Regions from separate parts of the Homo sapiens genome. Here regions 2, 3 and 4 are each linked to region 1. The links are contacts of gene promoters, found by promoter capture Hi-C in blood cells and fetal thymus (Javierre and others, 2016). All regions are on one chromosome and are shown on one strand. The core of a region is centred on a gene start or on the middle of the fragment in contact, and the rest is flanking DNA. Distances in the headings are between cores, read along the strand shown. Region 1 holds the start of GORASP2 (golgi reassembly stacking protein 2). Region 2 overlaps PDK1-AS1 (PDK1 and ITGA6 antisense RNA 1). Region 3 holds the start of FASTKD1 (FAST kinase domains 1). Region 4 holds the start of METAP1D (methionyl aminopeptidase type 1D, mitochondrial).

Evidence for each region. The method cuts DNA at HindIII sites, captures the fragments that hold promoters and counts their contacts. A CHiCAGO score of 5 or more calls a contact.
Region 2: a fragment that was not itself captured here is called in contact with the fragment with the promoter of GORASP2 in region 1 in 1 of 17 cell types (total B cells); the score reaches 5.0 in total B cells.
Region 3: a contact is called between the fragment with the promoter of FASTKD1 here and the fragment with the promoter of GORASP2 in region 1, in 4 of 17 cell types (naive CD4 T cells, monocytes, fetal thymus and 1 more). The highest score is 8.7, in naive CD4 T cells.
Region 4: the fragment with the promoter of METAP1D here is called in contact with the fragment with the promoter of GORASP2 in region 1 in 1 of 17 cell types (total B cells); the score reaches 10.5 in total B cells.

What each region holds. Positions count from the first base shown.
Region 1 is chr2:170,927,321-170,930,926 of GRCh38, reverse strand. GORASP2 (golgi reassembly stacking protein 2) reads right to left here and starts at 1,674. Exons shown (of 10, transcript NM_015530.5): 1 at 1,524-1,674. The coding sequence starts at 1,586. RefSeq lists a silencer at 1,196-1,895. The HindIII fragment of the contact is 11,137 bases long and covers 1-3,606 here.
Region 2 is chr2:172,549,888-172,553,493 of GRCh38, reverse strand. The region is part of intron 1 of PDK1-AS1 (PDK1 and ITGA6 antisense RNA 1); the gene reads left to right. Among named protein-coding and RNA genes, the nearest start is that of PDK1, 4.4 kb to the left of the region's middle. RefSeq lists a silencer at 379-673 and enhancers at 379-673, 3,179-3,606. The HindIII fragment of the contact is 1,167 bases long and covers 1,002-2,168 here.
Region 3 is chr2:169,572,322-169,575,927 of GRCh38, reverse strand. FASTKD1 (FAST kinase domains 1) reads left to right here and starts at 2,063. Exons shown (of 15, transcript NM_024622.6): 1 at 2,063-2,259. RefSeq lists enhancers at 1,852-1,951, 1,854-2,456, 2,312-2,481. The HindIII fragment of the contact is 12,279 bases long and covers 1-3,606 here.
Region 4 is chr2:171,998,339-172,001,944 of GRCh38, reverse strand. It overlaps METAP1D (methionyl aminopeptidase type 1D, mitochondrial), which reads right to left and starts at 1,992. Exons shown (of 10, transcript NM_199227.3): 1 at 1,936-1,992. The coding sequence starts at 1,975. LOC124905590 (a long non-coding RNA gene) reads left to right here and starts at 2,036. Exons shown (of 3, transcript XR_007087296.1): 1 at 2,036-2,266. RefSeq lists a silencer at 1,998-2,297. The HindIII fragment of the contact is 8,153 bases long and covers 1-3,606 here.

The DNA.
Region 1 (3,606 bases), core at 425-2,924:
TTATAAAAATATCATGAATCCCCAAGGATTCATGACCACAATCGGTCACTGTGAGAAACAGCTGGTAATACTGGGTAACATCCCAGGGTAGAGAACTCAAAATCAGACCAGATAATAGAAAGAAAAGCACAGCTTTCACCTCACATTTGGGAACTGACAATTCTCCTTCCATTTCCTCTCTCAGTGTGGCTCTTGGGTGTTTGGTTAGCAGAAGGGGATAGGAAGATAATACGGTTTATTTATAGGCTCCCTTTTCCTTTCGGGGAAAAAAAAAATCACCCTTTCCTACTAAGAGTATGGCAGAGGAGGGATTTTTAGTGTAATGGAAAGGCAATAGACACGATAATCCGGAAGATCAGAAAGATGATCTGTCTCAGCCCTATCACATAGACAGCTGGGCAATTTAAGAATGTGTCTCACCTAAAACATGGGACCCAGGGCAGGAAATGAAGGTAGCACCAGGAAGTGCACTCTCTTACTTTCAGTGAAAACGTTCTTGCCTGTGAGGAGCTAATATTGAGTGACACTCTATTACACCCCTAAATGGCGCTACACGCTGCGGCCACTCTGTTGACTGTTCATGTTAACACTCACACAGGTGTCACAGCAAACAACCATCAATGCTACTTCTAAAGTCGCCCGGTTCCATGAGGAAAAGACCACATGCTTTGTACCACCCAGGCCCAGGCCGTTCATAGGTAGGGGCTTAGCTGACGCCTTTTGAGATACTATGTTTCTCTGCGTCCTGGAAGTTAAGCTAGGGTTGTTTTCCTTTATATACTCCGATTTTTAAAAAAAATTTCTCTGCACTACCTCTTTACCACTGTGGATCTAAACCTTATAATCTAAACCACACCCTCAGCAATCGGAACAGAACGGAAGTTCCCACTCCAGGAAATCTTGAGAAGGTTTGGGAGGGTCAGGAGTGGCACGGGAAAGGAAAAGTCTGGTCAAAATCAAGTCTGTTTAAGTCCGTCGAACCTACTTCCAGGCCATTTGGTTTTCCGTCTCCTGCCCTGCTGGTCTTTCAGGCCACTCGGCCGGCGCCGAGGTGATTTAACACCTGCCGCCGCAGGCCCCGCCTCCGGACTGCGGGTCCGGATCCCTCTCCTAGGAAAGCGCAAAGGCTGCCTTCACAGTCACCACTTTGGAGACGTTGCCTCCGCGCCCTTCCTAACTTTGGAAGCTAAAAATGAGGGGGGGTGGAGGAGAGAGAAGGCCGTGCGGAAAAAGAGCAAGGTTGTCCCCCCTTCCCAGGGCCGCCCCCTGGCCGAGTCGCCGGCAGCCGCCTCCAGCTCCAGCCCGTCCTCCTACAGCCGCGGACCCCGTGCCCAGGGCGCTCCGCGGAGGTGGGATGCGAGCGGCCTCCGGAACCAGCCTCGACCAAGGCAGCGCCCGCGACCGCCGCTCCTTCGCGGGATCGGGCCTGGCTGCCCCGTGAAGGAGCCCATGGGGGCCTCCGCCTCCCCGCGGCCGGCCCCGCCTCCAGCCCGCAGCTCCCCGGCCGCCGTCGGAGCCCTTACCCGCAGAACGTGGTAGCCCTCGGTGCCCCCGCCCGGGATCTCGACGCTTTGCGAGGAGCCCATGGCGGCGGGCGATCGGTGTGGCCGAGCCGGGCTCCGCGCTGCTCCCGCCCCCAGCGCACCGCCTGCTCTAATCCTCCGCGTAGCACTTGGGACGTGGCACTCGCTGCCGCCGGAGAGCCGGGCCGCACAGCCCGCCGGGAGATCGTCTCTGCTGCAGCCCGGGCCGCTGCGACGCCGCAGACAGCGCCACCTGCCGCGAGCCACTGGAAGGGGCCCGAGCGCTCGCGGGCCGGGAGGGCGGAGAGGGAGGGCCGGAGGAGGACTGGGAGGCACCGCGTCGTGCTCGCGAGAGAACAGAAATGCGCTTCCCCCAGCTTTGGCGCCTTGCTACGGGGCCCTGGATTGGACTAGATTTATGCAGACGCGTTCCCGCTCGCCTGAAAGAACACATACTTGGTTGCAGGTCCCCCTGGTGGCCAGAGGCGGGGAAAGGGCTGCTGATGAACAGGAGCGAACTCAACACACACCAAGCTCTCTGTTCTCCGGGTGTGTAGGTATTTTCCCAAACTGTACAGCTGAGGGGAATAGTGGCCTCCTGTGGGCTGCCTAGCATCTGCTCAGCTAAATTTTATAAAAGGAAACGCTCCCTTTATAAAACAGTAGTCTCACAGAGTCACCTACCAACTTCTTTTTTGGTTTGGGTTTGTTTTTTTTTCTTCCTCCCTAATTGTGAGAATAAGATTAGAGGATTGGTCATAATCAGAGCGATGCCAGCGTGGGAAGCACGGTTGGATTTCCCTGGCATTCCACCACCTGCTGCTGCTCGGTTCCCCGTCCTACCTCCTTCAGGTAGCCAGGTCGTATTCATGCTTATTCCGTTGTCGTATTCCGTTGCTGCTTTTGCCCCTTACGTGTACTCCCTCTGAAACCCCTAGTTGCTTTGTGGTCAGTTGGACTGATGTTGCGTCAACCAGGTATTATGTGGATTCCTATGTGATGCAATGTAAAGTACGTGCTATCGCCCATGAAGTATTCTAGCCCAAGGTGGTTAACTTGCCTCTATGGCATCTTGAGTTTGATGTTTACAGGAAGTAAGGGGAATTGAGGAGCAAGTAAAATGACACCACAGGGAACCAGGCAAATACAGGAAGTGGGCCTTCCTTCAGGACAGCTGGCCAGTTCTCTTTGTCGAGTCAGAGTCCTATGAAAGGGCCTATGCCAGATTAAAAGGAACCCGAAGAATATAACCAAGAGACACATTGCAAGGGCTTGAGTTGGGGGCCAACTTGGAGAAATAAGCGTAAAGGACATTTTTGGTTCATTTGGAGAAATTTGAATATGTACTGAGTATTAGAAGAGTAGTTATTCACATGGAAACGTGGAAATTATTGTCTTTTTTAAAAGCTGGTTACAAGACGGGATGTGTCTGTAGACAAAATGAAAAACATGTCCTCAAAATACAGATTAATATGTATGTATGCATATGAAGATGTGGGAGGAGAATATGAACCAAGGGTTACAGTGGTGATCTCTGGGTGGTGACAGAGATATTTTATTTTTTGTTTTGGCTGGTTCCATATTCTATGATGCTCATGAAGTGCTTTTGTAATAAGAAAATATTATTTAAAATTTAAAAATAATTTTCTTTGCTATCGGTAAGTGAATAGCAGATTTTTAGGAGGCCTAATAAATCCATAAATCCATAAATGAAATCTCCAGTTATTAGGCTCCTCAAGGACAGGGTCTGCAGTGGAGTTGGCTCTATGTTCTTGATATTTACCAGAATGCCTAGCAGCTAATTCAACAAATTAATACATTTAATGCAAGAGAATAAATGGAAGAACTAGATCTAATTATAATGTTCTCATTCTGCTTGGCAATTATAACCCTCTTTATGATGGAAGCTGCTGCCATGTTCAGTGGTCAAAATTTTTGGACCAGTTGTCTCCCATATGTCTGATGGCAGCCGCGGCCTATAGAACCCAGGCTGTGGATCGTTGGTGGTCCATGGGCAAGTCCAGCCCTTCCTTAGAGCTGTAGTGTATGTTTCAGCCTCATGAGTGGCTGCTTGTTATTCTCC
Region 2 (3,606 bases), core at 336-2,835, 1.6 Mb before region 1:
CATGAAACAAATCCCCAGCTTTCCTGGGGACCAGACCACCTTTGTTAAACTAACAGATTAGGCAGGGCACAATGGCTCATGCCTGTAATCCCAGCACTTTGGGAGGCCAAAATGGGAGGATTGTGTAAGTCCAGGAGTTCGAGACCAGCCTGGGCAACATAGACCTTGTCTCTACAAAAAATGAACAAAATTAGCTGGGCATGGTGGCACTTGCCTGTAGTGCTTCGTGGGGAGCATCACTTGAGCCCAGGAGGTGTAGTTTGCAGTGAGCCAAGATCCTGCCACTGCATTTCTGCCTGTGTGACAGAGCGAGACCTTGTCTCAAAAAATAAGTAAACTAACAAATTAACTAGAAGATTAGAAATTATAGCTCAGGAGTCATGCAGCCAGAGTCCACAAGATCACCAACCTCCACAATTGCTCCTATAGATAACATTGCTATTATAAAACCTAACATTGGTGTTTGAGTTATTTTTCAAATCCTGAATTCCAGTGGACCAGCTGGAACCACACAGATAAGTAAAATGACTCATCTGGTCTTGTGGCCCCCTCCAGAAACTGACTCAGCATAAGATGACAGCTTCGACTCCCTATAATTTTATTCCTGACCCAACCAATCAGCATTCCCCATTCTATAGCCTGCTGTCTGCCAAACTATAAAAAAACCCTAGCCTCTGAATTTTCAGGAGGTTAATTTGAGTAGTAATAAAACTCATCTTCTGTTTAGCCAGCTCCACATGCACTAAACTCTTTGTCTTGATAAATTGGCTCTATCTGGTCAGCAGGCAAGAAAAACCTATTGGATGGTTACATGAGGACACAGCAAGAAAGCCCTTATGAGACACTGAGTTCCGGCATCTTGATCTTGAACTTCACAGCCTCTAGAACTGTAAGAAAACTAATTTCTGTCATTTATAAATTATCCAGACTGTATTTTGTTACAGCACCACTAACAGACTAAGACACACATGTAGATATAAAGTGTAATCATACTGTAAGCTTCTATAAAAAAATTTTTACATAGCAGACATGAGCCAGCCCCTGTAAATTCACTGAGAATTTGTGATCCATGTTGGACTGATGTGACTGAAAGGAATGGAAAAAGCAATACAAAACAAGCTAGACTGTGTCACCTTGTCCCCAGTACCCTCTGGCTTCATGAGGTTCAGAAGACAAAAGGAAAGAAAAGTCATATTTTTTCCCCCTGCTTCTTTTCTTCCAAGCTATAATTTGTGTTCCTCTAAGTGTGGCCATAGCTTCCTACCCTTGTCCAGTATCCATAGAGATAGTACTAATTTTTCTCTGTTGCTGATTGGGTGCTCACCAGCCCTGGAGGTTTAATTCTGCCCACACTCCTGTAAATAGTCCCTTCATTAATTAATTAATCAATTTCCCTTTTGAGTGTGCTATCATTTCCTGCCCTAGAACCCTTTTTGATATGCTGGAAAGATAATTTTCAAAAAAGGTAAAATAATGACTCTCATGCAGCTATAAAATGAACATGTGTCAAAAATTTTATTTAATACATTAATTAAATGAGGGAACCAGTAAAGATATTATAGCCAGTTCAAAGGAGAAGTGAAAAAACAGGAATTCAGAAAAATTTGCAAAGGCTGTAAAACTGGCTCTTTCCTTGGGAATCAGGGAGGGTTGCCCTTCTACCTGACAGAATTTATTTGCACATGTATAGGTAAGAATTATGTGCGTTGTTACCATTTATCTGCAATTTACAGAGTTGTAAAATAGCTCAAAGACAGTGAATTGGAATCAGATACCCTGAAAAGTTGTGCTCTAAACAATACGTAATATTCCACTGAAGCATAATTTTTCTCCATATACATTTGCCTTCTTTCTTTAAAGGGTACTTTGATTCAGGTAATTACTTGTGTAGTGATATGAGGGCATCCTATTCACCAGGATTTATTTAGCACAAACATAGTTTTTATCTGGAGTAAGTGCTTTGAAATGCTGATGGAGTGGAAGGAGAGATCTGTAGGGAAGGCTCAGAACAGCTTTACAGGAAGCAAGGAGAGGAATTCACTTTGTAGAGCAAAGGGGAAGGGGAGGAGGCAGAAGATTGCAAAGACTGTTCACAATGTGAGCACTCCTTATAACCCAAACCTTCAGTAAAGTTTGCAAAAAAAGAGAGATTATTGGATACTGAAGCTTTTATGTGTTGTGCTTTTGTGAAAATTGGAGGAAAGGATGAATTTTTTTTATGAGAGTTTGTGGCAATGGAGATAGACTTTGCACACAAAGAGTCTGAGTGGTGGTGGGGTGGGGGGTACTATAAATGAGACTATGAGCCTCAAGAATTTACAGACATGGACAGGGAGAACTCTAGACTTTCACAAACTGAGACTGGTAATGTTAAAAGATAAATTTGGGCACATTAAAAGTTTTAAAAATTTATTTGAACTGTTGATTTAAAAAAAAGACTCAAACTCTGTAAAATATTTTAAGAGATTTATTCCGAGCCAAATGTGAGTGACCAAGGCCTGAGGCACAGTCCCAAGAGGTCCTGAAAACATGTGCCCAAGGTGGTCGGGTCATAGCTTGATTGTGTACAGTTTTAGGGGAACAGAAGTTGCAGGCAGACATCACTCAGTACATGTAAAGCGTACACTGCTTTGGTCTGAAAAGGCAGGACAACTTTAAGACGTAATATAGGGGGATTGGGAAACTTGTGGCAGGAGGGGGCTTCCAGGTTATAGGGAGAGTCAAAGATTTTCTGACTGGCAATTGGTTGAAAGAGTTAAGTTACTATCTCAAGACCTAGGATCAATTGAAAGGAGTGTCTGGATTAAGACAAGGGGTTGTGGAGACCAAGATTCTTATTACACAGATAAAGGTCCCACATAGCAGGCTTCAGAGAGAACAGATAGTAAATGTCTCTTATCAGACCTAAAAAGGTGTCAGACCTTAAAAGGAAAAACCTGGAAAGGGAAGGGGATCCTCTACAGAATATAGATTTTCCCCAGAAGAAATAGCTTTGCAGGGCTAGTTCAAAATATGTCAAAAAAATATGTTTTGTAGTAAAACACTTCAGTTTATTTCAGGACCTGCTATCTGTCATGTGTTGCTACTGAGGAGTAAATTCTGATTTTTTTATCTTGCCCAAATTCCTATCTAAGAGTTCTGGGGAGTCATGCCCTACAAACCATAAATTCTCATCAGATGGGTTTTATTTAACCCTATATATCGAGACTTACTTTTCACCCTGACTCTGGAATAACATTACATGACAAGGAAGAAAAGCAAAATATTTTATCCCAAAACATGTTTTTTTGCCATATCTTGAAATGGCCCTGCAAATCTGTCTTTTGTGGGGGAAAATTTGCATCAGTAAAGAATCTCTATTAACATAGCTAGATCTTTTACTTCCAGGCCCTCCCAATCCTAAAAAGATTAACTTAAAGTCTAGCACCTTTTAAAGATCTGAATAGGAAACGTTTGTCATCTGTTGTCTCTGAGGGCAGCCACAATAAAACTTCAAAAGAACCTTGGTCTCCACAATCCTTTATCTTAACCTGAACATTTCCTTTCTGTGATCTCAGGTCTTTAGATAAACTCAACCAATTGTAAATCAGAAAATGTTTAAATTTA
Region 3 (3,606 bases), core at 814-3,313, 1.4 Mb after region 1:
TCCAGCTCCTAACCGCGAGTGATCCGCCAGCCTTGGCCTCCCGAGGTGCCGGGATTGCAGACGGAGTCTCGTTCACTCAGTGCTCAATGGTGCCCAGGCTGAAGTGCAGTGGCGTGATCTCGGCTCGCTACAACCTCCACCTCCCAGCCGCCTGCCTTGGCCTCCCAAAGTGCCGAGATTGCAGCCTCTGCCCGGCCGCCACCCCGTTTGGGAAGTGAGGAGCGTCTCTGCCTGGCCGCCATCCCATCTAGGAAGTGAGGAGCGTCTCTGCCCAGCCGCCCATCGTCTGAGATGTGGGGAGCGCCTCTGCCCCACCGCCCCGTCTGGGATGTGAGGAGCACCTCTGCCCGGCCGCGACCCCGTCTGGGAAGTGAGGACCGTCTCTGCCCGGCCGCCCCGTCTGAGAAGTGAGGAGACCCTCCGCCCGGCAGCCGCCCCGTCTGAGAAGTGAGGAGCCCCTCCGCCCAGCAGCCGCCCCGTCAGGGAAGTGAGGAGCGTCTCCACCCGGCAGCCACCCTCTCCGGGAGGGAGGTGGGGGTCAGCCCCCGCCAGGCCAGCCGCCCCGCCCGGGAGGGAGGTGGGGGGGTCAGCCCCCCGCCCGGCCAGCCGCCCCGTCCGGGAGGGAGGTGGGGGCGGTCAGCTCCCCGCCCAGCCAGCCGCCCCGCCCGGGAGGGAGGTGGGGGCGGTCAGCCCCCCGCCCGGCCAGCCGACCTGCCCGGGAGGGAGGTGGGGGGGTCAGCCCCCCGCCCGGCCAGCCGCCCCGTCCGGGAGGGAGGTGGGGGGGTCAGCCCCCCGCCCCGCCAGCCGCCCTGTCCGGGAGGTGAGGGGCGCCTCTGCCCGGCCACCCCTACTGGGAAGTGAGGAGCCCCTCTGCCCGGCCACCACCCCGTCTGGGAGGTGTACCCAACAGCTCATTGAGAACGGGCCATGATGACAATGGCGGTTTTATGGAATAGAAAAGGGGGAAAGGTGGGGAAAAGATTGAGAAATCGGAAAGTTGCTGTGTCTGTGTAGAAAGAAGTAGACATGGGAGACTTTTCATTTTGTTCTGTACTAAGAAAAATTCTTATCCTGTTGATCTATGACCTTACCCCCAACCCTGTGCTCTCTGAAACATGTGCTGTGTCCACTCAGGGTTAAATGGATTAAGGGCGGTGCAAGATGTGCTTTGTTAAACAGATGGTTGAAGGCAGCATGCTCCTTAAGAGTCATCACCACTCCCTAATCTCAAGTACTCAGGGACACAAACACTGCAGAAGGCCGCAGGGTCCTCTGCCTAGGAAAACCAGAGACCTTTGTTCACTTGTTTATCTGCTGACCTTCCCTCCACTATTGTCCTACGACCCTGCCAAATCCCCCTCTGCGAGAAACACCCAAGAATGATCAATAAAAAAAATAAATAAATAAAATAAAAAAAAGAAAGTTGCACAGCATATTCCAACAAATATCAGTTTGGTACCTTTAGAGCCTTACTTTGTTGTAGTGATTATCAGCTGAAAATTATGTCTGTTGTAACTTTGGTAAGCATTCCACTTTGGTTATTTATTAGTGGTATTTTTTTTTTAAGTGTCAAGTGTCAAATCTTGGGACTATTAAAATACCATGGTAAGTAAAAAAAAAATATGGTCTGAGAACTGGTACCTATCCACGACATAAGTGCAGAAACTGAGAGTATGAGTTTGCATACTTTCAAAGTTACTCGACAGAGTTATTTCGTATATGCTAAAAAATAATAAGAAAAATCTGTACGTGTCTTTTCCATGTTTACATTTTTAAATTTCATTTTCCTAAGTATATTTTTGTGTATATTATAAAAGTAGTAGACTTCCAAGGACTAGGAGAACAACCTTAGATAGTAGAGAATCACCTAAACGACCTATATCTTCTTCAACAGCTTAAGCTGTGTACTGCGCTAGAGCCTCCCTCAATGAGGAACTACAATGCCCAGAATTCCCCCAAAATGCGTGAGCGACGTCCATTTCACCCACCTCGCCGCGACCCACCCTGGGATATGTAGTGCGTGACTTCCGCAGTGCACGCTGCGCCTGCCGGGCATTTTTTCCTGGTTTGGGGGCAAGGTCTCATGGGAAAGGTCATGTCTCTCGAAGAAAGGTTATAAACCCTGAGATATGAGGGTTGGGCGAGACATCCGAGCCTGTTTCGTTCCGTGTTGGGACCAGGAATAACCCTGACTTCTGAGCTTTCATAACCCCAGGATCCTCCAGAAAATTTGCGGCGCGCTGAGGGAAAACCTTGCTGGCAAGTCGGGACTGTGTGGCAGCGGCTATTTTTCTTTTCCCACCCAGCACGTTTTCGGGCTGGGGACATAGGGTTCAGTTGAGATACGGAGGCTTCCTTCGGGATATTGGGTTCTCTGAAGTGCGGATGGACTAGGGCAGGGCTGAGACCCCATTCATTCACTCATTTGTTTAGCTCTCCTTTATGCCCGGCGCAGAAGATACCCCTTAGGGTCCCAAGGCCCTTCCTGTAGTTAAGTTCCTTCCTTAAGGTCATTCAGCTGGGGCAAAGCTGGGGACTCGACACCTTTCTATGCTAACCATTGAGCTGCCTCCACTTTGAGCAGCTCAGTGGATGAATATAGTATCTTGAGGATACCTTTGATTTGTGCAGGGTTTTCTTGTGCAGGTTTGTGACCCAGGTCAGCTTAGGTCAGGATGCTGTACTGCTTGCCACAAAATAGCCTGTACTGTCGCGTCGTTTTTTCTTGTGAACAGACTGTTTGGCATAGCCGTAGAGAGGGGTCTGAGACATGAATTTAGTGATACAGCGTTGATTTGTTTGTGTAATGAAGCTGTTCAAGTGGAAAGAACTGAGTTGTAGTCCCTGCTTCACTAGTACTAGAAGGATTTTTTAAACCTTTTTGAACCTATTTTGCCTTATCTGTAAAATGGAAATAATATCAACCTGGAAGGTTAGCTGAGAGAATTTAATGAGATAATGTGTTTCAAACGTTCTTTGTAAATGGTAACATGTTGCAGAAATATTAGATTATATGACTTTAGTCCCTGCTTTTCTAACCATTACTTCTCAATTATAAATGTAAACATTTATAGCATATTTTTAAAACAAATTATTCTTTTTTCATAATTATCTTTAGTTCTTTTATTGTTTCAGCATGACTTGAAACATTACTTAATTTCTTAGTATTTCTTGATTGGTGCTTTAATTGTGTCGTTCATTGGTTAAAACCTATCCAAGGCCAGTAATGATTAAATTATATGACTTCTTTTATTTATTTATTTTCTAAAGAAAGGAATTATTTGAGCTCTTTAAGGGCACAAGAAAAAGGGGCAAGAAATTATCCTGAAAGCAAATAAACCTGAGACCATACTTCTGAAAAATTAAAAAAAAAAAGTATATATATATGTATGTATAAATATATATGGCTCTGAATTAATGCCTACACTTTTTAGAAACTTTGAAGGTGATTATTTATTTTAAACAATTTTCCTCTTTTTCGAAAAGACAGCTCTGAGTTTGTGGGCTTTTTTTTTCCTTTTATGGTAAATTTGAAAACTTTATGTAAATGTCAGATTTAAAACACTTTTAAAATGGGGTGCAGAAAGAAGCCCCTTTTTCTGGACA
Region 4 (3,606 bases), core at 743-3,242, 1.1 Mb before region 1:
TTTGTATTTTTAGTAGAGACAGGTTTCACCATGTTGGCCAGGCTGGTCTTGAACTCCTGGCCTCAAGTGATCTGCCCGCCTTGGCCTCCCAAAGTGCTGGGTAATATTACAGGCATTAGCCACCTTGCCAGGCCTGGCACCCAGATCTTGAGAGATGTAAATTGGCTGTCTTTTCACAAGGCTACACTCTCATGCTGATGTCCATTCCTTCATGCAACCAGTCCAAAATGCTCGCTACATCACCTTCCCCATACACATCTCTCCCCTCAAATCTTCCTGTGGCCCCTTTCTCATCTCCACTAACACTGAAATACTGAAGTCTATTCGATTACCAACCTTCTTCCTCTCTAAAAATATCTTCCTCTTCACTTCTTATTTTTTATTATTTTTATTTATTTTTTTTTTCTGAGACGGAGTCTCGCTCTGTCGCCCAGGCTAGAGTGTAGTGGTATGATCTCAGCTCACTGCAACCTCCACCTCCTGGGTTAAAGCAATTTTCCTACCTCAGTCTCCCGAGTAGCTGGGATTACAGGCATGCGCCACCACGCCCAGCTAATTGTGTATATTAGTAGAGACGGGGTTTCACCATGTTGGCCAGGCTGGTCTTGAACTTCTGACCTCAAGTGAGCCACCTGCCTCGGCCTCCCAAAGTGCTGGGTTTACAGGTGTGAGCCACCGTGCCCAGGCTCTCTTCACTTTTTGTACACACTCATCCTGCACTGTCTCTGCTGAACTTTACACACTGACTTCTATGGAGTGACCACGTCATGCAGTACCGAGAAATGAGTCTTAAAAAAAAAAATTAGAGTCATGTTCAAATGAGCAATCTGCCTCTTACCATTTATGCGACCTTAGTAATGTTACTTAACCTCTCTAGCCTTACTTTTCCCTTCTGCAAAGAGAAAATAATTCCTAACTCACTGGGTTTTTGTTTTTGTTTTTGAGACAGGGTCTGGCTCTATTGCCAAGTCTGGAGTTCAGTGGTACGATCACGGCTCACTGCAGCCTCTTGACCTCCCAGGCTCAAGCGATCCTACCACCTCAACCCCCAGAATAGCTGAGACTACAGGCATGTGTCACCACGCCCGACTAATTTTTAAAATTTTTTGTAGAGACGGGGTCTCATTCATTGAGTTTTAAAAGGAAGCAAGCATATGTAAGGCGCTTAACACAGTATCGTGTACTTAAAAGGCACTTAATAAACAGTAGCTGTTACTATGAAAATAATATTTACCTCACAAAACTGTTCCTACATGCCTGACGCTTAAGTAGCTCCTCAAAATATGATAGTTTTCCTCTTCCCCCGTCCTTGGAAAAACTTTCTAGTTCTTTCCAACAAAGATTCAGCACCTAGTTCAAATCCAACAAAGATTTCCCCAATTCTGCTGCAAAGGCATTTGTATATTTACTAAAATCTCAACACTCACGCAGGATAAAACCTACTTAGAACTACCCAGACATCCTTTCTTATCTTCTTAACTTTAAGTCACTGGAAGAAAACCATCACATTTTGCAAGTCCCCAAAAAGCATGCCTGCATAAAAGCTCTAGGGAAGGGAACCGGGTGTCCAGATGCATTTCAGAATTACCATAGGTTTCCTTGCTCGGCATACAGAATAAATGTTGGTTACACTAATGATACAACCGAAGTTGGGGAAAAAAACTTCAGACAATGGCCCGCAAATCTCAAGGAGTAATTGCGAAAAGATGCCACGTGGTGACGTGTTCTAGGCGGGTGATCAGTGAACAAATTTGTATGTGTGATCCTGTGGTGTGTGAATGTGTCATCGTGTGTGCCTGCGTGTGTTCGTAAACACTGAAAGTACAGTCGTGTGCGCCGAGAAGTCTGAGCGCGGGTGCGCATCCCTTTGGACCCGGGTGCGTACCTAGTGAGCAACCGTGCGAACCCTCACGGGGCTCTCCTCCACGCGCTTACCTCTGCGGACGAGCAGGTGGACGCCACTGGGCGCCGCCATGTTGGCGTCGGTCACGTGGCCGCGAGCACTCGCTCGCCGCCCCGCCCGCTGGAGCCGGCCAGTCGCAGCCCTGCCGAAGCCCTGAGGCGTCGAGGCCGCCCGAGGGGAGCGCGCGTGCGCGCGCGGGGCTGACTGCGGGAGCCCTGGCTGGGAAGCGGCTAGGGCACCCGGGCAAGCAGCAGAACCCGCGGCCGGCTGAGTCCTCTCCAGCCGCGAGAGGCGGGCTCCAGCCGCGGCTCGCGCGCTCGCTCTGAGCCCCCGCGCCCAGGTGGGATGGAAGAAGCCTGTCAGGTAAGCGTGGCATCCAATATTTATAGCATCAACATTTTGGTGCATGGAAACGTGAAGTTGGGCGGAAAAAATAAAGCACAATCTAGTGTTCAACATAGCACTTTGTATCGTCTGCCACTCTGTTGCAAATTATTCCCCTGGATTCAGTTGAAAGGTAAAATTTGGTTCAAAGTCACCAGCTCCCCTTTTGCTGTCCCAGAATCTACATTACTCAGCAGAGACTCCAGACAACACAGGATCTGTGTGTCGCTGCAAAATCTATTCTAGGTACCCCAGTGGGTATGTTCAGGAGACTTCTCTTTCTCCAAGGACGCCTTCTGCTTGGCAGTATTAACTGGAGTCTTAATCCTAAATTTGGAGTTTAAGTATAAAAGGATGACGCCTGCCAATTGCATTGCCAAGAGAAGAAGCCTACAGAAGGCCAATTGTGAATCAGATGAGGGAGCTGATGTATGCCTACTGATGACGGTGCCCATTTTTACCAAATTCACTGTCTCTCTTACCTGTGTTCTGGGGTAGATGCCATCCTGTCATGGACCAGGTGTTATTCATCTTAGTAGCCTCCGTGCCCGGCACAGAACCCGATACCCGAGGAATGTCAGGTGAAGCAATTGAACACTGCATGAAACCAGTCAAACTGAGAATGTAACCGTTTCCAGACTTTAAATGCAGTGAAGATTGATTAGGATTCTCAGTGAATGTGTGTGATGTCTTCTAATTAATTTTTAAGCACTACACACTCAGTGAATAATCTAGACAATTCAGAACAATTCAGAAATAAGGAACAAGTGCAAGCCCCTTCCTCGCCCTCTGTACATACCATAGTCCCACTCCCCAGTTAACCACCGTGTGCTCAATTGAGATCTTTGCCTTTTACACACAGGCAAATGTAAGTATTTTAAATAGAATCATATGACTTGCTTTTTCCATTCCAGTCATCATAGGCATCAAATCTTAGAACACTTAGTTCAGACTTATTCTTTTTAATGACTATATAATCTTGATATTTTTACTTTTAAAGAGAGTGAATGTTGGCATTTCATTAGAGGACACATGCTATAATTCTGGAAAACCTGGTTTTGGATGCTTTTGGGTCACCTTGAAAGATAAAGAGAAGTAATGCTTTCCATCAGGGTAAATAAGATGCACAAGAATGAGAATAAAATGTACTCCTACCTTTTGCAAACTCATTTCAATTCCAGGGAGAGCATTTTTGAATGTGGCAAATCTGTCCTCTGTGTAACTGAGGCCAGCAATCTGAGTGCAGCAAAGGAGCCTGAGAGTTAGCTGGCCACAGAGTCTTAAGCAGTGTACAGAAAAAAGAAATCTAGACATCCCTA